7 separate regions of the Homo sapiens genome follow, and regions 2, 3, 4, 5, 6 and 7 are each linked to region 1. The links are contacts of gene promoters, found by promoter capture Hi-C in blood cells and fetal thymus (Javierre and others, 2016). All regions are on one chromosome and are shown on one strand. The core of a region is centred on a gene start or on the middle of the fragment in contact, and the rest is flanking DNA. Distances in the headings are between cores, read along the strand shown. Region 1 holds the start of KHDC1 (KH domain containing 1). Region 2 overlaps RIMS1 (regulating synaptic membrane exocytosis 1). Region 3 overlaps RIMS1 (regulating synaptic membrane exocytosis 1). Region 4 has its middle 220 kb from the start of KCNQ5. Region 5 has its middle 200 kb from the start of KCNQ5. Region 6 has its middle 180 kb from the start of KCNQ5. Region 7 has its middle 160 kb from the start of KCNQ5.

Region 1 (3,453 bases), core at 300-2,799:
CTCACGCCTGTAATCCCAGCACTTTGGGAGGCCAAGGCGGGTGGATCATGAGGTCAGGAGTTTGAAACCAGCCTGGCCAAGGTGGTGAAACCCCGTCTCTGCTAAAAATACAAAAATTAGCTGGGCATGGTGGCAGGCACCTGTAATCCCAGCTACTCGGGAGGCTGAGGCAGGAGAATCACTTGAACCCGGGAGATAGAGGTTGCAGTGAGCCAAGATCGCACCACTGCACTCCAGCCTGGGTGACAGAGCAAGACTCCATCTCAAAAAAAAAAAAAAAAGCCTAGCTGGGCAAGGTGGTATGTGCCTGCGGTCTCAGCTACTCAGGAGGCTGAGGTGAGAGAATTCATTGAGCCCGGCAGGTTGGAGCTGCAGTGAGCCATGATGGTGCCACAGCCCTCCAGCCTAGGCAGCAGGAAAGAGGCCCTTCTCAAAAAAAAAAAAGCATAGACTCTAGGGCCAAATTGATGTGCTCAAGCAAAGGTTTTGCCACTTACGGTGTAACCTTGGGCCAGTTGCTTAACCTCTCTTGACCTCACTTGCCTTCTTTGTAAACCAGAGGTGATAATAGTATACCCATTTCATAGGGCTGTGGTGAGAACTAGAGGAGTTAATACATTTAAAGAGCTTAAAAGTGTCTGGTGCATAGCAAGTGCTACGTAAATGTTAAACCTTTCCTGCCCTTTTCCTCTGCTCCTCCTTTCCCTTGTTTCCTGTTACAGCATTCCTTCTTTTTTTCTTACTATTTCCTCACTATGCCTTTGCTTGAATACTAAAAAGAAACTACTGGTCCAACAGCAGGCAACACCTCATGCGATTACTTTAAATGACTTCAAAATAATACAAACATATCCAGCACAATAGTTTACATTTTAAAGGTGTTACACCCATTTTGTTTTGAGATGTGTCAACAAAACCCGTGTTTCTTTTCTTTCTATAAGTTTAAAATGTCCCCAAATCAATTAACAATAGAGGAAAGTCACACGATCTGTTTTAATTTTTCTCTTTATACTGCTATCTCCTGTTTCCCCTGTTTTTACACTTCTTTGCAGCTCACTTTCCTTATCTGTAAGATATTCTTAGGATGAACTTAGTAAGAAATGTGCAAGATCTAGATGAAGACCCACCAGATAGGATGCTCTCTTGCAGACACGCAACTCACTGACTCAACCAATGAGGAAATTATCCCACAAAGCAGATAATCCTAATGGAGGGCAGAATTCAGGACTGAGCATCTCAGTGATGCCGCCGGGAACCCAGGCTTCTCTGTCCCTTCACCGGACTAACCGAGTTCGAGACCACAGGGGGGTCAGGTAGCCAAGGCTGGGCTTTGACGGTAGGAATGAAGGAGGTGAGGGTGGCGCGCCGCAGGCCTGGGCCACTCCCTGAGTAGGGCGGCGGCGGCGGCGGCGGCGGCGGCGGCAGCGGCGGCAGCGGCTGCAGGCCTGGCCGATTGTGAGGAGACAGCGGTACCTCCTGGGCCGCGCACCCGACCCTTCCAGGGGTCCCGGCTCGCGCCGCGGCCGCGCGAGGCGCGCTCGAGCGGAAGTGGCGGCGACCCCGCCGGAAGCGCGCGGCTGCGGCGCGGGAAGCAACCCAGAGCCCTCCTCCCGCCTGCTCTGTGTAGGAGACAGCCTGCGGAGCCCACTGCCGGCGCGCAGAGAGCCCAGCAGCTCTTGAGTCCAGGAAGCAAGGGTGGGAGGAGGGACGAGCCAGTGGCAATGACCCAGACCCGGACGACCCCCATTGCTGAGCCAGCGGAGCTGCTTGGTGAGTGGCCTCCAGGCGGCATCTCTTGCTCTCAGCCCGGAGGGGGTTTTGGGGACCCAGGCTGTGGGGCTGCCTCTTCCCATGCCTTCAGTTCACCCCGATATGGGGTGAAAAACCCTAGAGACCCTCGGGTGTCGGTCCACCAAGGGAGGTCCAGACTCCCCAGGAATGTTGCCTGGGGAGGGGTGTCGCGGTGGGGGGGGGGGTGACCCAGGCCCACCCTCTGCAGGGCACTTAAAATGCTCCACATCCCCAGTGGATGCCTCCTGTCACGCATCACACCGTGGTGTATTTGAGATCCCATCTGCCACTTGGGCTGGAGGGAAATGAATGTTTTTGGGTTTCTTGTCATTGCTTCCTGCGGATTCCATTTTACTCCTGTTCGTTTATGGCCTCAAACATGAATTTGAAGAATTTTGCCCTCCCTGGCAGTATTGGGAAGAAGATTCTTTTGTTCAAGTCCGTTTGGACAATTAGATGGGAGTATTAACAAAAGGTCGGGCTGGGCACAGTGGCTCACACCTGTAATCCCAACACTTTGGGAGGCCAAAGAGCAAGGATCGCTTGAGCCCAGGAGTTCGAAACCAGCTGGGGCAACAGAGGGAGAACTTGTCTCTACAAAAAATTTAAAAATCAGCTGGGCATGGTGGTGCACGCCTGTAGCCCAAGCTATATGGGAAGCTGAGGTGGGAGGATTGCTTGAGCCCGAGAGTTTGAGGCTGCTGTGAGCTGAGATCACGCCACTGCATTCCAGCCTGGGCAACAAAGCAAGACCCTGTCTGAGGTCAACTCTGCCCCCAGGAAGGTATGGGACCTTGCAATCTTATCTAGGTTGCGTCTTTTTCATTGAAATCACGAAATCATTAAGGTAAGTAGGGAAGGGTCAAGATAGCTAAGATGAGTGAGGGGACACAGACACCAATAAAAGTTCTAACTTTGAGGACTCCTCCAGTATTCTTTTCATCCTAAAGCTTCTGGCCTATCAGCTAGTTCAGACACAGCCTAGGAGTCTCAAGCCAGTACAGGAACAAGGAGGCAGGTTGCCCTCTTGGGGCAAAGCTGTGGCCCCACCCTTGATGAAGAACGCCTGTAGGAACCCAGGACCTGTGAGCAGGTAGAGTCCTGAAGGTTTAAGATTCTGTGGAGCAGGTATGTGCAGTGCCAGTGCGCAACCAGCAACTGATGGACAGGAATAGGTAGAGCTGCTCTGAGTGCATTCCTTTGGCAAGCCTGGGCCAGAGGCACACAGGAAGGAATTAGTCATGTGGTATCATAGGCCAGGTGTGGAAGCAAATGAGCCAGAGTGGAACCAGGACCAGCCAGGGCCAAGGCAGGGAGAAGAGTTCCTCTAGCTGACATTGACAGGAAAGCAGAGTCAAAAACCTGGAATGGTTTGCTTCAAAGACTGGATGCTGCCTAATGACCTCGAAGGCCAGTGATACCTGGACTCTTGAGTGAGCAAGGCAGATTTTGGAATGAGCACACAACTTCAAGTAAGCCCGGAGATGATTACCTGTAGTTTCTGCTGCTCTTAGAGGCAGAATCATCTGAGAACTGATTGAGGAGTGCATGTATACCCCAGAGACTAGTGCACTCTAGGATAAAAGGAGTCATTCAGCCCTTACTTTTGGTTGGATGCAGGGTGTAGTTTCAATAAAATGTCACAGAACAAATTTCTAAGAC
Region 2 (3,453 bases), core at 254-2,753, 890 kb before region 1:
ATTTAATTGATATTTCACCTATGTGTGACATCCCCCCAGCCATATGCTATCATAGGATTAATTACAAGCGCTAGTAAGTCAAAATATGTCTTTGAAAAAAATTCGTGGATTATTACTCTGGTAAAATAACAGTACTCTCCTGGAGAAACATGATTTCTGCAGATGCTAAGATGTGTAAGCAAACTGTCATCCTGTTTTTCTTTCTAGTAGAGCACTACTTTAAAGTGCTCTACTTAAAAGAGACAACTTTAATTAAGACTTGAAACTTTGTCCATATTTGAATTTTACAGTTTTATGTTTATTTGCATATGTAGTTGAAGTGTGAAGTATACCCTGAAAAGTTGACTAACTTCTCTCCCAAGGACACCAGAAAGGTAGAAGGAATCAGGAATCAGTTGAAGGCCAGAGTTAGGAAGACAGAAATGTAGTTTGTTAGGTCACGTCCTGAAGTGCTGGCCAGCATTCAAGAGGAAGTTAAGAGGCAATGGGCAGGACCCAACCAGTCCCTGTGTAGATAGACGAGCCCCTTAGCCATAGTTCACCTGGTGCCTTTTAAGGGGCAAAGCTTTTGGTAACTTGGAGCTAGAAGCCCTGAATGTGAGTTCTAATTCTGCCATTTACTGGCGATGATCTCAGCAAAATAATTTAACCTCTCTCATCCTTGGTTTCCTCATCCAAAAAACTGAAAATATTTATCAAATAGTGGAATTCTTTATGAATATAATTATTCTACTCTGGGTTGCAGTCTAACCAGGAAACAGTCTAGATCATCTTGGGCTCACAGCAAGTCAGAATGTGGAGTATTAGAATAAAGGCAGCAATCTTAAAGGCTGTTTCAAAACAAGAATCTAAAATACCTGGGCCAAGGATTCTAGGCCTGTGGTTCTAGAAGCCTGTTTGAAATTTCTGGATCAGAATCAGACCTCATAATCTGTGTTGGACAGGCCATAAACATGTGTTGGTGAGAATCATGAATTTTCATGTCAATATTATATTGTGTGTGGTTTCTTGAAAGGAAAATAAAAGGTAAAAGTATCTCATTCAACAATTGAGATTGAAGATATATATTTCCATGGCATTTAACCTTTACAAAATTACCCATCATTTCTCATCAAAATTGTTAATGTACTCCTGAGATAATTATTTTTGCCATGCTTTCTAGGGTTCCATCTTTTTAATGTTTTAAAGATTTTTTTATGTGTTTAACTTAGCAAATGGTAGGTGAAACATTAAAATCTACAAAAATGCTCTTTTTTCCTGAGATTGATTTAGAACTTGACTGCTTATTTTCTTTCCAAAAAATGTGAACTTATTGTACAGAGAAATACAGCCAAAATCAATTTACCAAGAATTTAGAGTAAACAGGGACATACAGTACTTTTCTCCCTTTTGTACCTTTGTAGGGGCAATTTGAAGGAGCATACTTAAGAATTAGGTTTGCAAACAAAATCTCCCTGTTTCTAAGAACATCGGAAAGAACTAAAAGTGGTTTCTCTGGACTGTGTCTAATCTTCAGCGATTGGTTTGCTATTCATTGTTGGGAAACTATATATGGCTGCCGCCAGGTTGCATGACCTGTTACATAACAATTTATTGAAGCAGGGAGATGCTAAAGTCACTGGAGGTTGGACTTGGCCTGTTAAGAGTGTGAACAAATGGAGTGTAACAATGTGTGTGATTTCTGAAACAAACAATCCTGGGAATAAAGGACACAGTCCACTGCTTTCATAATAAGACAATTCTTTTTTAAACAAAATTAAAATTAAAGTTTTATCTACAGTAAAGGTCAAAGACTTAGAAGTGGAAAAATTAAGGCTCTAATTTTCATTGTGTTGGTAAGGAGCTAAGTAACCACAGGCTAAGGGTTTAACCTTACTGCACCTTGGATTCTTTGATCAGACTTTGGATTCCGTCATTTATTTTTAAGGTTTCAATGCTAAGTTTCTGATCTGTTCTATTCTAAAATGGATCAATTTAACCCACCGATAATTTGAATTTCAGGGTTTTCAGCTCAGTGCTTATTTTTAGTACTGCTTTAGTATTGCATAAGCCAGTATTTAATATTCTTATAAATATACTCCTGCTCTAATGAAAAAGTATCAGGTTTGTTTTTACCTTGTGAATTACAGTGTTTTCCTTCTCAGGAAGAGTTATCAATTCCACATTCATGGCCATGTTCATTCATTCCCACTTATTGAAGTGTGGCTGAACCAGAATCAAACATTTTTGTGTGTGATTAACACTGAACACACCTCCTACTCCTCAAATTATCAGGATTGTCATTGTTTATAGTCAATTTAGGACAATGCCTTGAGAGTAATAAGCAAACTGGAAAGAAGAGAGGCAGAAAGTAATTGATTCTGCTAAGGATGTCAAATTAAATTAGAGTCAGTAATACGTTATCATTCTTATCTCACATTTTGTTAACATTTTCATTCATTAAAGCTTAGACATCTGCTTAGGCACATTTTTTTTTCTCCCACAGAATCATTAAATACTGTACTTGAAGTAATTTAGTCAATTCCTTAAGATACAGTAATGCAGTTCTGAAGATTGGTAAACCTTAATCCACCAGATTTTTTCTTCACCAGTATACTTTTTATTGTATTGCATATTTCAAGTTCATGTTCATCTAATTTTTAAAAGATGAGTAGTGAGATGAAAACTAAAGACCTAATTTTATTATTTATTTTTTATTTTTATTTTTTTGAGTTGAAGTCTCACTCTGTCACCAGGCTGGAGTGCAGTGGCGGGATCTTGGCTCACTGCAACCTCTGCCTCCCAGGTTCAAGTGATTCTTCTGCCTCAGCCTCCCAAGTAGCTGTGACTACAAGTACGCACCACCACACCCAGCTAATTTTTGTATTTTTAGTAGACATGGGGTTTCAGCGTGTTGGCCAGGATGGTCTCGATCTCTTGACCTCGTGATCCGCCCGCCTCGGCCTCCCATAGTGCTGGGATTACAGGCGTGAGCCACTGCGCCTGGCCCTAAAGACCTAATGTTTTTAATACTTCATTGTACCAATTCTCACCACCAAACCATTTCTTTTTATGTCCTAAGAGTTTTCTTTTGGTCTTCAGATACGCAACTATGTTTTGTTATTTAGTACCTATTCTAACCACAGTCAGTGGAAAAGCAACCAGTCAGCAGTTTCCCAAAACCCTTAGGGCACACAGGCTCTAATTAAGTTTTTATGCATAAGTTATATTCTTCCCAGTCATGGAATGATTCTTCATTGGTGTCACACAACCTGCCCTCAAATTACTACCAAGGCCTGTGTGGCCAGGCCTCAAATTAGCACAATTTACATTATTTGCCTATTTTCTCTCTTGTCATATCCATACTTTGAGCTAGAGTAGATCTCAGTGCCAGTCTGAAATGAAGTGGTCAGAGTATTTTGCGTTAAAACAGCAGTCAGCAACCTTTTTGGCACAAAACCAGGGACCAGTTTT
Region 3 (3,453 bases), core at 293-2,792, 870 kb before region 1:
ATAGGGTTGGAGCTGTGGAGAGGAAGAAGAATGACCAGACTTGTGATGCATTTTGAAGGCAAAGCCAAGAGGATTCGCTGATGGATTGGGTGTGGGGTGTGTTAGAGGAATCAAAGATGATTACAAGGATTTAGGCCTTATCACCCAAGTGAATTGTAGTACCATTTACTGTGGGAGGAGGATTTAGTAGTGGGAGGTGGTAGTGTGGTGGAGGTGGGGAAGAGTTCTGTCTTGGATATGTTAATGTTGAAGTGCCTATCAGATCTGTAAATGGAGCTACTAGGCAATTGGATTAATGACTTCAGCATTTATGGGAAAGGTTAAGACCTTGATGTATATTTGGGAGGCACAAGGGCATAGGTGGCTTTGTTAGCTATGTTAAAGCTATGTTAGAGATCACCTAGGAAGTAAGTGTAGAAGAAAGCAAAAGGTCTGAGGCCTGAGGTCTAGGGATTGTCTATTTCTAAAAATCTCAAAGAGGAAAAATCCAGCAGAAGAGACTGGGAAGTAACAACCAATGTCAAAGAAGGAAAAACGGAGAATGTGGATCACAGTAGCCAAGTGAAGAAGCTTGTATAGGTATAAAGAAAAAATAGTTCCCAAATTACTAACCATTGTCTTCCTTGAGTGGTGAAATTATAGGGGGCATTCAATGTTGGCAATTTCTGTAACATTTAAATATTTTGTAATATACATATATTGTCTTTGTAAGCAAAAATAGCAATAAAAAGGTTAAGAACAATAAAAAATAAAAATTTTAATGAACATACTAAATGTGTAGGAAGGATCAGCATTAAGTTCATATAGCATAACCTATTATATCTTTGATTAGACAATTTACAAAAGGAATCCAGTGACCAAAAATGAGAGGGAAAAAATGCAGTGTTTCAAATGGCTTATCTAAGAGTGTATTTAGGTACCTGCTTTGTAAAGGTTTTATGTGGATTGAAAAGTTAATGTGTTTATATAGTAGTTATGTATGTAATTATGTATATAGAGCATTTTTCATATATTATTAATGGGTATTATATGATACTATACAGAAACTAAAGCGAAAACCAGAAATTTATATAGGACGTATAGATGGAATAAAGTCTAACAGTTTTCCTAACCTATTGATACTGCTTATACATGTAAGCAAGTAAATATTTTAGAATTTATTTCCATGCTATGAATAGAATGCTGGTTAGTGCATTTCAAAGTGGCTCAAGAAAATTCCTCTGAGCTTATCAAGAACTGAAATGCAAATGTATGTAATTCCCAGTACAAATGGAGGTGTACACCCCAAACTGCCAGTCAGAACTCATGCAGCTGAGTCAAAAGGCCATGAGGTAGCTGTGTAGTCTTTGAATTAAGATAAAACCTGTTACACCTAACTCCATAATCTATATGGAGTAGAAATAAGTATAAATATTATATAGTGTATGTTAAAGTGCTGCAAAAATCATCAATTAAAATACTAGTTTCTCTTCATGAGGATTGCTGATACGTGACAGTAAAACTGTGGTATTTTTCAAACTGGGTTCCAAATGCACCTTCTCCTTAAAAGAACACGACCTGTCCTTTGGGACTATTCATACACATTTAGTGAATTCCGTATTAGGAGAAACCTATTAGATTGTTCACCATTATCTTTCCACAGAACAGTTGGGTGCCAAATTCAGATTTTCATTGAAGTTGTCACCATCAATAATACAATGATTTCATTTTGGCTGATTGAGATTTAGGCAGTCACTGAAACTGTGGCCATGGCATAGCATCCAGTGGTACTCCCCTTAGCCAAGCATACTTTGGCAAGGAGCCTGAATCAAGCAAAGTACTCCCTTAGGTTACTATTTTTCTGATTAAATTTGTAATTATGTGTAAAATTAACTATTGTATTTGCAGGATCAATTGATATTCAGGAGTAAACTGTCTAAATAAAACTTAGAGTTTCTTTTACTCTCTCCTGTCAGAGTCGGGCCACAAAAAGTTAAAAAGTACCATCCAGAGAAGCACAGAAACAGGCATGGCAGCTGAAATGAGAAAGATGGTAAGGCAGCCGAGCCGAGAGTCTACTGATGGCAGCATCAACAGTTACAGCTCTGAGGGCAAGTAAGTGCTGTCAGCACGTCTGCATGGCTGTGGAACCAGGAATTGTGTACTAATCAGTAAGATAACAAAGCCACTGAGTGTTACTGTGCAGCTTCTCTATTTAATCAGAAGTTCAACCATCCATTTTAAACCACCCTGATGGCTTATAAGTAAGTACACATGGACACACCTCTACACCTGGTCATTCATACCTTTCAAAGGGTGAAGAAATTCTGAGTCCACATGAACAAATTGATTTCTTGCATCTAGGAAAGCCCAGACTAGTTCCTTACTGGATGTTTAGTGTACAAATGCCACAGGTAATGGACTCTTTCATATGGGAAACTCATAGTCTGTCCCTGTCACCAAAGTCCAAGTTAAAATTTATAAGTAAGGAACTGATTTCCCATTTTCTTAATTTTCTCCAAGCTATTTTGGACCCTAAGCTTTTCTAAGTCTAACACTGTCATATATGTAAGTTACATTTTCTTGTTTTTAAAACATTGCTGACTCATTTTTACCTTAGGAAATAATCCAGGGTCTATCAGCTTCATTATTTTTCTGACTAAAATGTTTTAGTTAATTCTGAAAAAATAGAATACGATTTTTAAAAATTTACTCTTTTCGATTCTTTTTCTTTTTTTTTTTTTTTTACCATTTCATATGGATCCTGCACAAAACCTGCTTCTTCCTATGCTTGAGAATATTTCTGGTAAAATTGAATTTTTATTGAGGTAGTGGATCTTACAAATAAGTAATTAATGTGTTGTTTTGGATTACATGGAGATTCACCACATATAAATTTTCCATAATTATTTGTTCATTACCATTCACATTACTCATATACCAATTTGATATTTCTAATTTCTTGTCTTTACTGGAATTTTTCTATATTGTTTAGAAAATTTAACAGAATTATGCCAAGTTACTGTTTGTGATATTCCTTCCCATTCCTGAAACTAGTTGGTCTCTGTTTAGTTGGTCAAATGATTGGCTTGTTATGCATGTTTCCAGTAAGGAATATAAGAACAAAAATCAGCAGGTATGAAAGTTACAGAGATAAACTTACTGACAAAATACCCATATTTGATGAAGTAGCATAAAGTAATATACAAATGAGACTTGAACACATCATTTTCTGATATAAAAAAGTAACAAATAAAATTTGCCTCCATCATAAACCATTTAATCTCTTGGATTTATTTTCATGGTCTCTGGATGGGATTATAATCTGTGTCCCATTTAATTTCCTTGGTTAAAAGAAATAATAGATGTGAAAGCACAATGGAAAGAGTAAGTCTCTATAGAAATATGCTCATTCAAAAAATGCTTATTGAATGCCTATCACATAATGAGCATAGTTGTCATTACCCAGTGATA
Region 4 (3,453 bases), core at 299-2,798, 860 kb before region 1:
ACCCTGCCTCCTCCGATTACCCCACCTGCTGCTCATTAATAACCCCAGTCTAGGTTGTCAGACCCAATAAAACAGGGGTCTCCAATCCCTGGGCCACGGACTGGTACTGGTCTGTGGCCTGTTAGGAACTGGGCCACACAGCCAGAGGTGAGCCAGGCAAGTGAGCTCTGCCTCCTGTCAGTTGGCAGCAGCAATAGATTCTCATAGGTGTGTGAACCCTGTTATGAACTGTACATGGGAGGGGTCTAGGTAGCGTGCTCCTTATGAGATTCTAATGCCTGATGATCTGTCACTGTCTCCCATCACCCCTAGATGGGACCATCTAGTTGCAGGAAAACAAGCTCAGGGCTTCACTGATTCTACATTATGGTGAGTTATATAATTATTTCATTACATATTATAATGTCATAATAGAAATAAAGTGCACAATAAATGTAACGCACTTGAATCATCCTGAAGCCATTCTCCCCCTGGGTCTATGGAAAAAACTGTCTTCCACAAAACCAGCCGCTGGTGCCAAAAAGGTTGGTGACTGCTGCTCTATAGCTCTTACCACAGAACTCCTTTAATTAAAGTATATACCTATCTTATCACATACTTGGTGGTCAATTGGTTTTTGTAAATGTAAATGTATTAGTTGGATTAAAAAAACCCACAATTGTCCCATCATCCCAGCAGAATCTCCTTTGGATCATCTTGATCCATGCCTAATGCTGAACAAATATCTCTGACCAGAAAAATGAAATACCTTGATAGACAGGCTTGTGTCAAGAGTCCAGCCCTGGATCTAGGAAATCCAGGCAGTTGCACCCAAACCACATAGAAAAGTTAGGGTAGTTCTCCCAAGGCAATATGGATGCTACTAGAAAAAAGAGAATGCTTCTGCCTTAGAGAAGGACATGTTGGGAAAGTTGTGTCTGCTCTAGATCCATTTTTTCTCTTCTCTCAAGACCTAGGAAAGGTGGGACAAAAATTCTCAAGATTGGCCACATCCAACCACACTCACTCTGATGACACTCATCTTCTCCTCTCTTCCAAATTATGGAGCCACTCATCTGGTGCCTTAAATATTTCTAAGACTCCAGACTGACATTTTGAGGAATATGGCATTATAATTATATCTATAGCACGCAGGAAGACATACGGCTAACATAAAATACACTAAAACATATCTGTTAAATGGAATAATAATAACACCTACCTCATACAATTATTTTGAGGATTAAAGTAAATAGTAAATATTACATTTTTAGGACAAAACCTGAATTCATAGTAAGTGGCTTAATAAATGTTAGCACCTATAACCATTATGCATAAACCTAACTTTGTGAAGTCTAAGTTAACCTTGTGAAGACTTCATATGAACACAAAACTCTTGGACAAATCTGGCCTTCATTTCCTGATCATTTATCTGATCCACCACCACTGATACAATGTCCCTTTCCAGTACTGGTAGATAAAAACAGAGGAGGATTTGTCGTCTGTTCAGGTGATAGGAGTGCTAATTTCAATAGCCCATATCACATAATGCTGTCTTCAGGCCATTCTGTGCATCTTTGTCTTCAGGCCATTCTGTGCATCTTCAGTAGGGCTGGTTGTTCCTTCCTTTTCTAGACCAACCTTTGCATTTAGTGAGCACCACCTCTTAGAAGCAGACAGAGAACACCCTCTCTGACCCAGCCCAACAGAACGAGTCTAGCTTTAGAAAATGTGCTTTCTAACCACCATTTTCAGTGCCATTTCCTGGATGATTTCATTAGCAAGCCTCACAATCTTTCTGTTCCAGAAATTCTCAGCCTCTCAAGGTTCTCTAACTGCCTTCTGCAATGCAAGGTTCCCAACCTATTCTCTACCTGCAAATCTGCTCCCATATCACTGAATTCTCCCCAATTTCTCCAGGAGCAGAGGAACTGAGTCGTTTCACTGAAATTACCACCTTTTTCTTTCTCCTTTTCTGTATAGTCAGTCTAGGTTCTCTCTTCAGATGCTGGATCATCTCTTTCATCCTCCTTTGCATGTACTTTAATTCTATCACTCCTTTCCCTATTTATGTCCCGCAACATGCAACTGCGGCTTTTCTGATTATGTGTGTTATCTTATCTATTCATTCCTCTGCATTTTCCAAGTTCTATCAATACATAAAATCATCAGAAACCACACGCCTACATCACTCTAGCTTGTTCCTGCCATCATGTTCACTCCACCCTAAATTCATGTTTTTTCCTAATGTTTTGCCTTTGGTTTTCATTGAGTGTTTATTAAAGATGCTTCTTGCATTGGCTATGCGTTTCTGTCAACTATTTTTTCCAGTATGTCACTGAATACTTTTTGCAAATATTTTTGTATGATTGTTTTACATTTTATTATTTAGTGTCTGCAAAAAGAATTTTTTTCTACTGAGTGGTTGTGTTTTCTTCTACTATAGAGTTCTTTTTTAAGACAAAATATACTATTCTTTATTTTTATCATAGAACAGGCATTTTCAGTCTGTTAAAAAGTATGGAATGGGATCAAGTGTAATTTTAGAGGCTTCTCATGTTTCTTTTTTTATTCCAACTTTTATTACAAGTTAAAGGGTACATGTGCAGGTTTATTACATGGATAAACTGCATGACACTGAGGCTTGAGGTGTCAGCAATCTCATTACCCAGGCTGTAAACATAGCACCCAACAAATGGCTTTTCAGCCCATGGCCCCTCCCTCCCCTCACTAGTGATCTCAGTGTCTATTGTTCCCATCTTTATGTTCATGTGTATTCAGTGTTTAGTTCCCACTTATAAGCGAGAACATGCAGTATTTGGTTTTCTGTTCTTGCCTTAGGTCACTTAGGATAATGGCTTCCAGCTCCATCCATATTGCTGCAAAGAGCATGATTTCATTCTGTTTTATGGCTGCATAGTATTCCATCATGGTGTATATGTACCACATTTTCTTTATCCAATCCACTGCTGTTGGGCACTTAGGTTGATTCCATTGTCCTTGCTATTTTGAATAGTGCTGCAATGAACATATGGGTGGATGTGTCTGTTTTGATAGAATGAATTCTTTTCCCTTGGGTATATACCGAGGAGTGGGATTGCTTCTACCATAGGGCACTTAACTTTTCATATGCTTTGGTTCCCTTTGGTGCCTGGTGATACCTATAGACTCCTTCTCAGAATAATGAAGTTAAACTCCTTTAAAAAGTACATAGGAGGAAAATGAAGCCAATTATATTGAAAGAGTTAAAAACATTTTAACAACAAATTTTTGGTCTGGCGTGGTGGCTCACACCTGTAATCCCAACACTTAGGGAGGCTGAAGCGCGCGGATACTTGAGCCCAGGAGTTTTGAGAGACCAGCCTGGGCAATATGGCAAAAACCCATCTCTACAAAAAAAATAAATAAATAAAAATTTTAAAAAAAGCCAGGCACGATGGCACACACCTGTAGTCCTAGCTACTTGAGAGGCTG
Region 5 (3,453 bases), core at 469-2,968, 840 kb before region 1:
ACAACCATGAGGGCAACCACTGCTAGATAACAACTTTCTCATTTCCTTCCTTCTCTTCCCAGCTTTCAACACAACCCTGGAGCATTCAGACACAACACAGAGATAAGAGGAATTGAGAAATTTGTGAAAATGGAAAAGAAACTGATCATCTGATCATGTGTCCAATCTCTACTACAGGTTTTGAGCTTGAATTAGGCTCATATTGTCAAAAAGAGAGAAGCTTCACTTGCATGAGAAATTGAAGTTTTTATGTTAGATTTATCTTCATCCTTTTTATGTTGCTATAACAGAATACCTGAGACTTGGGAGTTTACAAGAAAAGAGATTTCTTTAGCTCGTGATTCTGACAACTGGAAAATTCAAGATCAGGCAGCTGCATCTGGTGAGGGCCCCATGCTGCTTAAACTCATGGCAGAAAGTGGAAGGGGAGCTGGCATGTGCAAAGAGATGACATGGTGGGAGGAAGGAAAAGATTGGAACTGAGGAAGCCAGACTCTTTTTAACAACCTGCTGTCAGGAAATAATCCATTCCTGCAAGAGGAAGAACTCACTTGCCCCCACAGGAGGCCATTAATCTACTCATAAGAGATCTGCCCAATAACCCAAATACCTCCCACTAGGCCCCACCTCCCAACACTTCCACATTGGAGATCAAATTTCAGCATGATCTTTGGCAGAGACAAACCAAATCATAGCAAGACTGGACTCGGGTTTTTAAAAACTTATAGAAATTTTCGAACATACGAAAATAGAATAGTATAATGAACTTCCATGTCCTTATCACCCAGCACACTACCCTGATATTCTACATATTAAAAATTTGGAGCACAAGTATACTTGACTATTTTAATACCTAAATGTGATGACTTCATTTTGATGTTTAATCACTGGCAGCTTTCAGGCCCCACGCTTCTTCCTTCCCCTTTTACCTCACCCGGAAGCCAATAAGAAAGCCTAGGATTCTCCCTCATGTGATTGTACAAATTCCATAGGTTTTCTGGTCTCTTTTAGATGACATAAACAGTCTTATTTTTAGTGTTCTGTGGGTGCCCTGTTAGGGAAGGATCAATTCCCCACTCAATATCATTTTGGGTATCAGGACTGATGGTGTTATACATGCACCCAGAGGGTATGAATATTACTCATATAATGAAACTCTAGGGAGAATATGGCAGGTATTCAAGCTCTTCTGGAATGGCTTGAGTCAAGAGAAGAGCAAGTACTTTGGATTTTTATTATAGTTAGGGGATGGAGCCTGGGTGAGTTTCACATAGCTCAGGGATTACCTCCTCTACCCACAGGCATCACCTCAGGGTATCCATGCTTCTTGTGCCTACACCTTCTCCTGGCTGGCTGAGTGTTCTGGAAGTCTAAGCGCAGAGAGATAAAAGTTTCTGCAGAGAGCAGTTTCTTCCAGCAGAACAGTGCTGTGCCAGAACACTGAGGCCAGCAGTGGCATGGCACTTTTCCCAGGATCAGCTCTCACTGGGAACACTGAATATATATTATAAATTATACCTTTTCATAGATGAATTTCTAGGAAAATTTTATTCCCTATTTTCATGAGTTGTTCCTCCCTAACGATAGATGTTAAAGGCTCTAATTGTCCCACTGGAGAATTAATTCAGCAAATTATCCAGCACCAATGTCAGAGGTGTAGCTCTCCCTTCTGGATATTCAGTTGGATAAACTCATTGCTTTCAACTTGAAAACTTTGGAATCAGCTCACAACCTGAGAAACTATTCAGGCCTTCCTAGGTTTTTAATGGAATACCATAAAATCTACGAGGGAGAATTGCTTCATTTCTCTAGATTTTTTTTAGGAATGAGCTCAATGAACAAAAAATAGCATAGATTCCAAATCTCTCAACCCTCAAAACAGTTTTCTTCTGGAATTTATCACTTTTTCAACTACTAAGTGAATGCTCCATTGTGGCAGGTTATAAACAGTGTGACATGCTGAAGCCAGTTTATAAGAGCTGTTGGTGTACGTCTCTTCCTGTGAGGCTTACATAGAACATTTATAGTTATATCAGGTTATTTTTATGGTTATAACAGATTATTTTAAGCTAATAACAATTATGATCACATACAAAACCTTTACATTTTTGCTCCCCCTGCATATTTTATGTTTTTATGTCGTAATTCACATCTTTTTATATTGTTCCCCTAACAAATTATTGTGGTTATGATTACTTTTAATAGCTTTGTCTTTTGACTTTTATGTTAGAAATATGTGACTTACACACTACCGTTACAGTATTAGAGCATTCTGATTTTGACCATATATTTACCTTTACCATTGGGTTTTTAAATTTCATATGTCTTCATGTTGTTAATTAGCATGCTTTCATTCCAACATGAAGAACCTTTATCATTTCTTGTAAGGTATGTCCAGTGGTAATGACCTCCCCAACATTTGTCTGCCTGGGCATGTCTTTAGCTCTTCATTTCTGAGTACAGCTTTGCCAGGCATAGTCTTGTTGGTTGGCATTACTTTTTTTCTGCCCTTTGAACATATCATCCCTACTCTCTCCTGGCTAGCAAGGTTTCTGTTGAAAAATTTCTGATAGGCTTATAAGGGTTTCCTTACATGTGACAAGTCTCTTGTCTATTGCTGTTTTCAAGAGTCTCTCTTTGTCTTTGACTTGTGACTAATTGATTATAATGTGCCTTGGAGTATTCCTTCTTTGTATTGATCTTGCTTGGGCTTCCTTAATCTTTCATTAATCTTGTGTTGATCTTTTAGGCTTCGTTAATCTGAATATCCATATCCCTCCCAACTCACATTAATAGCATGAAATCACCCATGGTGTGATTACTTACACCACAGAAACTGGCAAATGTTATAAATCAGGGATTTTTATTCCAAAAAATAGTTGTTAAAAACTTACCAGCACATCATGAGTTAAGGTAGAATGAGAAAAAAATAAGTAAACAAAACAAATGAAACTCTGAAAATTTTATCTAAATACGGCGAAAAGGTATAATTTGTAAAGAGGAATGACTTGATTCTCATTTCTCTTTGCGTAGCTCTCACTTATCTCCTTGCTCTTCCCATATATAAGAACAAACTTATGCACTGCAGTTTATCATCATAATTCCAGGTTTGATGCATTATATGAGGCAATATAGCATCTGATTTAAGAGCTTGGGCTCTGGATACAGAATTCTGGCTCTGCCACTTTCTAATTATTTTACCATGAGTAATTTCATCAAGCTTGAAAATCTCAGTTTTCTTATCAGAAAATGTGCATAAGAATAGCTCTTATTTTGTGGAGTTATCATGAGAAAGAAATAAAATAATTCCTGGCATATGGTGGGCACCCATCAAATATTTGTTATGTAAATGTATGAATGCCTGTAAAAGCATTTTGTCAATGTCTGGCATAAACCAAGTGCTTAATACATGTTAAATAACATAAAATTAATTTTGATAGCCTAGAATTACCA
Region 6 (3,453 bases), core at 256-2,755, 820 kb before region 1:
GAGGTGTTATCCTGCCAGAAGAAAACAGAGTGCTTCAGCCCAGCTTCATCTGCAAATGAGTGTTACACTGAAGCTGAAAAATTACATTTAAAGAAGACCAATGGATGGAAAACTAAAAGTCTGGGCAGGCTTTCTGGGAAGTGAGCAGGTTCTGTTTTGGTACAGTAAGTTCCACTCCTTAATTGTATTTAATTAATCGTGAGTCTCTCCTGCTGTCCTGTTGGCATTTTCAATACTAATAGATAGTTTAAAAGTTTACAGAAAACAAATATATATTCTGAAAAAATGCATGGATTTTAAATTTTTTGCACCAAAATATACTTGTACTAACTTTTTATAACATGCCTCAACAGCATCTAATTTGAGCCACTAAGAAGGATAAGATATGAGTTTCAAGAGAGCCCCAATCAGAGCAACATGAACTCTGCTAAAATTAAAGCAAGAATGAACATCAATTTATGGTAAAACTTGCGTGGAAGAATGATGAAATAAATAATGCTTTATGAAAGTTTATGGGGAAAATGTCCCAAATAAATCAGCAGTTTACAAGTGAATAACTCATTTCAAGAGGGAATGAGATATTGTTGAAGATGAAGCTCACAGTGCCATACCATCCACACATACTTGCAAGGAAACACTCATCTTGTTTGTGTCCCAATTGAAAAGGACCAGCAATTAACAGCAGAAACAGTAGCCCAACACCATAGGCATCTTAACTTATTCAGCTTACACAGCTGTGAACTAAAAATTAAAGCAGAGCAAACTTTCCACTTGGTAAGTGCCAAAAATGTTGTGCCCACTTGAGCTACAGACAAGATCAGAGTTTTCAATTGAAATTTTAAACAAGTAGGATCAAGATCCTGAAGCATTTCTTTGAAGAATTGTAACAGGAGATAGACAAGGCTTTACTAGTATGATCCCAAAGACAAGCACAATCAAAGCAATGGCTACCAAGAGGTGGAAGAGGTCCAGTCAAAGCAAAAGTGGATTAATCAAGAACAAAGATCACGGCAGTTTTGGGGATGCTCAAGGCATTTTGTGTGTTGACTTTCCAGGAGCAGGGGGTGGGACGCAAAAACAATAACATCTGCTTATTATGAGTGTGTTTGAAGGAAGTTAGCCAAAGTTTTAGAAGAAAAACACCTGGGAAAGCTTCACCAGAGAGTCTGCCTCCTCCATGACAATGCTCTTGCTCATTCCTTTCATCAAACAAGGGCAATTTTGTGAAAGTTTTGATGGAAAATCGTTAGGCTTTCACCTTACAGTCTTGATTTAAATTCTGCTAACTTCTTTTGTTTCCTAATATTTAACTAATCTTTAAAGGGCACCATTTTTCTTCAGTTACTAATGTAAAAAAAGATGGCATTGACATGGCTACATTCCCAACTCTCATTTCTTTAAGGATGGACTAAATGACTGGTATCATAGCTTTCAGAAGTGTCCCGAACTTGATGGGGCTTATGTTGAAAAATAAAGTTGGCAATTTTTGTCTTTTAATTCCATTTTTCCATGTATTTTTTGAAGTCCCCCCGTATTTGGGTTGGTCCTTGTAAGAAGTAGTGAGCCATTTTCTCTCATCTTCCTCACTGCTGAACATCTCAGGTCACACGTGATTTTGTCAAGTGCCTTTCTTCCATGGCCCTGAGGTTTGCAGTGAGTAACTCCCCAGTAAGTGACGTTTGTATTCTCCCATCCTTAACCCCTAACTCACCTCTGTGCTTGCCCATTTTCCCCATCACACAACCCCTGCCTAAAAGAAATCTGTGAATTTTCCCCATGAGGAAACTAATGAAGTCCTAACCCCAAATGAAGAGTGGGTTCCTTCCTTCCTCCAAACAAGTTATATAAAATGCTTCTCTAAGCTTCACCAGTAGGCTATACTTCTGGTTTTTTTGTCTGTTTGTTTTTTGCTTTTTTTTTCAGAAGATATATTATTCTGCTAAGAATCCTAGTGGAATCATCAAAGGTCACTACTACTAAGAAGAGCATTTTGACAAAAGACCCTTCCTCAAGGACCTCTGTGCTTTCTGACAGAGTGAAAATTTAAAAAAAAAAAATCTCTGAAAAGGAGAAAATCAAATGAAAGTCATTCCAAAAGAGCACCATATGGCCCACAAGATGTGTGGGTATGGAAGACTCATGCAATGAGGGAAACACACAGATTCTGGAAATCAAAAATGAGCCCCCCCACCCCCCACAAAGTAGGTCATCCCTCATAGCCAAATTCTGAGACCAAATTTCTCATCGCATACTTCTAATTTAGTTTACCTCTGTTGGCATAAGTATGTTCATTTAAAAGTGAATTTCATTCTCACCTCAGCATGGCTCATATTTGTGGTATAGCTAAATGGCTTCATCTTGAGGGTGATGTTGTGCAGCATATGTTACTAAAGTATAGCATCATCTTCTGATTTGAAAAAAAAGAAATGTACATTTGAACTCACTTTGGAAGCATATGTATACAAAATTGTTCTCCTTTACAATAGCTAGCATTGTCATAAAAATTGAAAGTAGGTTCAGAATTAGTAAAGAACTCTCATGGCTTCCTTCAGGACAGGGTTTCTCAACCTTGGTACTATTGACATTTGGGGCTAGATAATTTTTAATAGATTTCACTTTTTAGAGAAGTATAAAATTCGAGCAGAAGGTACAGAGGAGTCTCTTCTACCACTGTACCCAATAATTCCAATAATTTTTTTGTAGGGAGATGTCTTGTGCATTTTAAGATGTTCAGCAGCATCCCTGGCCTCTTCCACTAGATGCCAATAGCATCTTGCTGTTGTGAGGACCAAAAGTATCACCAGACATTGTCAAATGTCTCCTGGTTAAAATCACCAGGCAAAATCACCACTAGTTAAACATTATTCTTTCAGAGCTGGGCCTTACCCCTACAGGAAAGATAGAAGGTAGATTCTGTCTTTGAATTTATTAAGGAGCATCATTTTTTAACCCGACTCTATAAAATAGTACAACATGGGTAGATGTTTTATGAGTATTGATTTCTTCAGATAAAGCCACTACAAATTCATTATAAGCATTTGAGGAAGATGAGACAGTTGGAAGTGGGGTAGAAAAGATGTCAGCAGGAGGCCAGGAATGCTCCATAAGAAAGACACACACAGTGGTAATCCAAGGTCCATCTCCAACCCTGCATGTTCACAAGCTCAATATAGCTCAAGAATTATTAGCTAATTGATCAGACTTGGAGTTTCAATTCACAGGAAAAAAGCTAATGAGACATTATTAAATGGAACAACCATTGATAATTGGTAAATTTGCAATGAAAACGTCATAAAAAGGATCGTAAAAAGGATCAAAATCCATATGAGCTTTACCTGCACAATTTCCTCCAGTAGGTTGAGCTGCATGGAAACTAAATTGTCAGAGAGTATGCTGTAAATATGAAATCAAAACATGGAAAGTAAGACTTGTGATCTGATAGTTTAAAGGGCA
Region 7 (3,453 bases), core at 311-2,810, 800 kb before region 1:
GAGTTCTAAGGCTATATTTCATATGCCTTCTCATGAGATTTTTCTAGAAGTCTTAGTTCAAAATGAATTGCCTACACGTCAGCATTCCCCAGCCACATTGAGTAACCACAAAGCCAGTTCCAGCTGTGCATCCTAACATTCTTGCAGCAGCCTCACTCTCCCCTCCACAACACACATCTTGCTTTGAGGTTGTTTTCCTCAGCTAAGCACAAAGTGCAAACATTTGCAACAAGCCTGCCAAGGCAGAAAAGAACTGAAATTGATGCTACCTCACTTAGTTTCTCTTTCTGATCCATATCATATTCTGCTGTCAGAGTAATCTCTCTTGAGTACCAGGCAGTTTTATTGATTTCCATTTTTCTACCATAGAAAATGAACGCATCACCTTCCTTCCAGGCCTCCTTTATCTGGTTTTTCCTTGACATTAAACCTTGCCTTCACTTCTCTAGCCAGGCTGGACTACTCCCTAACACAGTTTTAAGTCCCCTTTTCACATGTTTTGCCTTACTTGCTTAATTTTTCAATAAATATTTCTAAAGCACCTACTACGTACCAGGTATAAAGCATGGCACTTGTCAAGAATGACTTCCTCTCTCAGTCTGTCATTTCTCACCCAAATTTCAAATTTCCTATCCAGTGCATTCTGTCCATTAACATGGTGTAGACTTTTCCAGCACTCATTATTCTTTGTTAATTTAATTCTGTCTCCTTAATGATGTAGAAGTTGCTTATAGGCTTTAGACCTCTGTATACTTTGCCGCACTGAGTAGATGCTAAGCTAGCCAAAAATAGTTACTAGTAGAGGAACATCAATGAAATCCTAAATCTTATTAGAACTGCAGTCCAACTAAGGTCTCCAACCTTTACTTAGAAAGTGAAGAGAAATTGTTAGGAAACTGATGAATAATTGTCGCCATCTGTGCAGATGTAAGTGAGGAACATGGAGTCACTTTTGCTCTTTAAAAACGTATGGTGTTGATATGTGTCTGAGGACAGCGGGGGTAGGATGCATGCAGAGGAAAGGAATGTACTTTTATCTTACACAACCTGGTCCAAATCCCTTGGTTTTCTACCTTAGTATCCTCCTATTAGTACAAAACTTTTTTGACATATTGTGTTCCCATTTTTTCTGCATTTTCTAGGCATAATTTTGAGTGTTCTTTCTGTTAAAGCATAGAATTAACCCAGCTCTCTGACCCTTGCCTTATGCTTTGAGATGGTGCTTTCCTAGCACTATACTCATAGTGTTTTCTTCATTTATTCTGCAGTATCTCTAGCTGTTTCCAACATATTATCATACTGTAAATACTTTGGTGCACTCATTTAATCAAAAGCCCACTTTATTCATTTTACTTTGTAATTCAATTCCCAGTGCGTCTTTTTCAGCACAATTGTTATGAATTTTCAATTTATTTTCATGTCTATTTTTATAGCTGCCACTTCTACAGTGTGGCAAGCTTTTTTTCCTTAACTTTAAAAACATCATTTCTGAAAGAAAGCTGTTCTGAAATCTGGCTTTTTCAGCAAACTGAACACCCACATGATGAAGATAGAATGGTGGAAGTTAGAGGTGGAAAAGATGCGTAAGGTCATCTTGCCTATTTTTTTAAGCAAATAGAAATATGTATGTACAATAATGTTGAGTTTACATAATTTCCCATTTCAAGCTTAGAAAATCTTGTTGACCCCCCGCCCCCACTCCATTATATGTTCTCTTATCTATGGGTTTTGCTAGAGCCTTATGAGCTTTGATAATAGTTCACATTTTCTTTGAAATCAATTTGCTTTGTACTGTAGAATGTGAGTCTGATTGATTCCAAATTAATTTTTGTCTTTTAAAGAATAATAATAACTTGCTTTTACCTACCTTTCTTCTTTCCTGTTTATAGGAGTAGTATTCTCCTTATCTATTGCTTTCTAACAAACCAACTCAAAACCTTAATAATTAAAATAACCTCAGTCATGTGTTATTATTTCTCATTGTTTGGCAGGGAAATGGGGCTTGTCTAGGCAATTCTTGTCCAGGGTCACAGGAGCAGCTGCACTCAGATGATAGTGGCTGCTAGAGTTATTTTACATGATTTTTCACACACACAGCTGTTTGATGGCACCTCAGCTGGAGTTTCCAGCTAGAACACCTGTCAGTGGCATCTCTAGGTGTCCTGGGCTTCCCTTGCAGCATAGTGACTGGATCCCAAAGGCAAGCATCCCAAAATAGAGGTGAAATCAGTATCGCCCTGTGTGACCCTAGCCTCCAAAGTTATACATCATTTTTACCCAGGAGTCACAAAGGACCACCCAAGTGTAGGCAGGGCAGGGACAGCGGTCGAGGGTGAGGAGTAGAGGAGGTAGGAAAATAGACTCTACCTCTGGATGAGGGGAGTGGTAAGGTCACATCGTAAACCATGGGATGAGAGATATTGCTACTCCCAACTTTGGAAAATACAATCTTCCACAGTGGTTACATAATCAACTACTTATTATTTGCAGTGGATAGAGAAAGATTTCAATTTAGATACCAGTTTCAACCTCTTTTCACACCAAACCGTACATAAGTGCCACAAATAGACTAAGCAACATGCACAGCTTTTCACTTTACTCATTTTGTCTTAATGCTTCCTGATCATTCCCTTTACATCAGATACAATCAATGAAAATGAAGAGGAGAAAAAGACTTGCTAATTCATAATCTGTGTACAATGGGCTCTAAACATATCCTTCAACAAGTCTGGGCTGTTTCTCTGCTAGCTATGTGAACCTAAGTGTCAGTTGACTTCCCTGGACTTCAGTGTGGTTAAATTATCCCAAAGTTCTCTTTAAGCTCTTATGTTCTAGAATTCTGACTTATATTTGCAGGTCTAAAATTCTATTTCCATGTGCTAAATAAAGATCATTAACAGTACCACCAGATAATTATTCTAATGAATGTGCATATGTTTATTTTTCTATTTTGAACCCCATGGAAAACCATGAAATCAATTCCCATCACATGCTCCTCATCACAAATAAGATAAAATAATTATGCTTCTGCTTGGAGTTGAGTGTATCCAAATTACACTTATTATTTTTCCTCTCCCTTTTATCCTAGAATAGTCCATCAAGCCTCAGAAGTTTTACCATGAAAACAATAATACTGTTCGGACAATGTGTTCTCAATAGGCTTATTGGTAACTTCTTTATTGATCAAACCTGAATCTCTGGTAACATGAAGAATTGAAAACATCTGGATTCTGTTAGAAGCATGGAACTCACTTGGGAAACTGGCTGCTAGTGTATTGGACATTCACAGCACAGCACTACCCCTGTGGTTTTATAAATAAACATGAAACTCAAATCTCCAAAACAACCACTAAGGCCTCTAAACCAAAACACCTCTGCCTGGGCAGAGGTGGCAAAGCAGTGGTTAACATACGTCCCTAATGTCATTCATTAGTAATATTTAATTATTTGTTT

Evidence for each region. The method cuts DNA at HindIII sites, captures the fragments that hold promoters and counts their contacts. A CHiCAGO score of 5 or more calls a contact.
Region 2: a fragment that was not itself captured here is called in contact with the fragment with the promoter of KHDC1 in region 1 in 1 of 17 cell types (naive B cells); the score reaches 5.3 in naive B cells.
Region 3: a fragment that was not itself captured here is called in contact with the fragment with the promoter of KHDC1 in region 1 in 3 of 17 cell types (total B cells, naive B cells and naive CD8 T cells); the score reaches 10.3 in total B cells.
Region 4: a fragment that was not itself captured here is called in contact with the fragment with the promoter of KHDC1 in region 1 in 10 of 17 cell types (total B cells, naive CD8 T cells, naive B cells and 7 more); the score reaches 11.5 in total B cells.
Region 5: a fragment that was not itself captured here is called in contact with the fragment with the promoter of KHDC1 in region 1 in 5 of 17 cell types (naive B cells, naive CD4 T cells, total B cells and 2 more); the score reaches 9.0 in naive B cells.
Region 6: a fragment that was not itself captured here is called in contact with the fragment with the promoter of KHDC1 in region 1 in 1 of 17 cell types (naive B cells); the score reaches 7.1 in naive B cells.
Region 7: a contact is called between a fragment that was not itself captured here and the fragment with the promoter of KHDC1 in region 1, in 2 of 17 cell types (naive B cells and naive CD8 T cells). The highest score is 6.4, in naive B cells.

Annotation. Positions count from the first base shown.
Region 1 is chr6:73,261,647-73,265,099 of GRCh38, forward strand. It overlaps KHDC1 (KH domain containing 1), which reads right to left and starts at 1,550. Exons shown (of 4, transcript NM_030568.5): 1 at 1,128-1,550. The region is part of intron 2 of LOC122539213 (KHDC1-KHDC1L); the gene reads right to left. It also overlaps the pseudogene KHDC1-AS1. RefSeq lists a silencer at 1,394-1,663. The HindIII fragment of the contact is 4,328 bases long and covers 1-2,739 here.
Region 2 is chr6:72,371,225-72,374,677 of GRCh38, forward strand. All of the region lies in intron 29 of RIMS1 (regulating synaptic membrane exocytosis 1), which reads left to right. Among named protein-coding and RNA genes, the nearest start is that of KCNQ5, 250 kb to the right of the region's middle. The HindIII fragment of the contact is 1,880 bases long and covers 564-2,443 here.
Region 3 is chr6:72,388,643-72,392,095 of GRCh38, forward strand. It overlaps RIMS1 (regulating synaptic membrane exocytosis 1), which reads left to right. Exons shown (of 34, transcript NM_014989.7): 30 at 1,956-2,094. Among named protein-coding and RNA genes, the nearest start is that of KCNQ5, 230 kb to the right of the region's middle. RefSeq lists a silencer at 2,072-2,272. The HindIII fragment of the contact is 1,949 bases long and covers 569-2,517 here.
Region 4 is chr6:72,405,051-72,408,503 of GRCh38, forward strand. No RefSeq gene overlaps it. Among named protein-coding and RNA genes, the nearest start is that of KCNQ5, 220 kb to the right of the region's middle. The HindIII fragment of the contact is 9,392 bases long and covers 1-3,453 here.
Region 5 is chr6:72,421,036-72,424,488 of GRCh38, forward strand. No RefSeq gene overlaps it. Among named protein-coding and RNA genes, the nearest start is that of KCNQ5, 200 kb to the right of the region's middle. The HindIII fragment of the contact is 3,000 bases long and covers 219-3,218 here.
Region 6 is chr6:72,438,636-72,442,088 of GRCh38, forward strand. No RefSeq gene overlaps it. Among named protein-coding and RNA genes, the nearest start is that of KCNQ5, 180 kb to the right of the region's middle. The HindIII fragment of the contact is 710 bases long and covers 1,151-1,860 here.
Region 7 is chr6:72,461,176-72,464,628 of GRCh38, forward strand. No RefSeq gene overlaps it. Among named protein-coding and RNA genes, the nearest start is that of KCNQ5, 160 kb to the right of the region's middle. The HindIII fragment of the contact is 210 bases long and covers 1,456-1,665 here.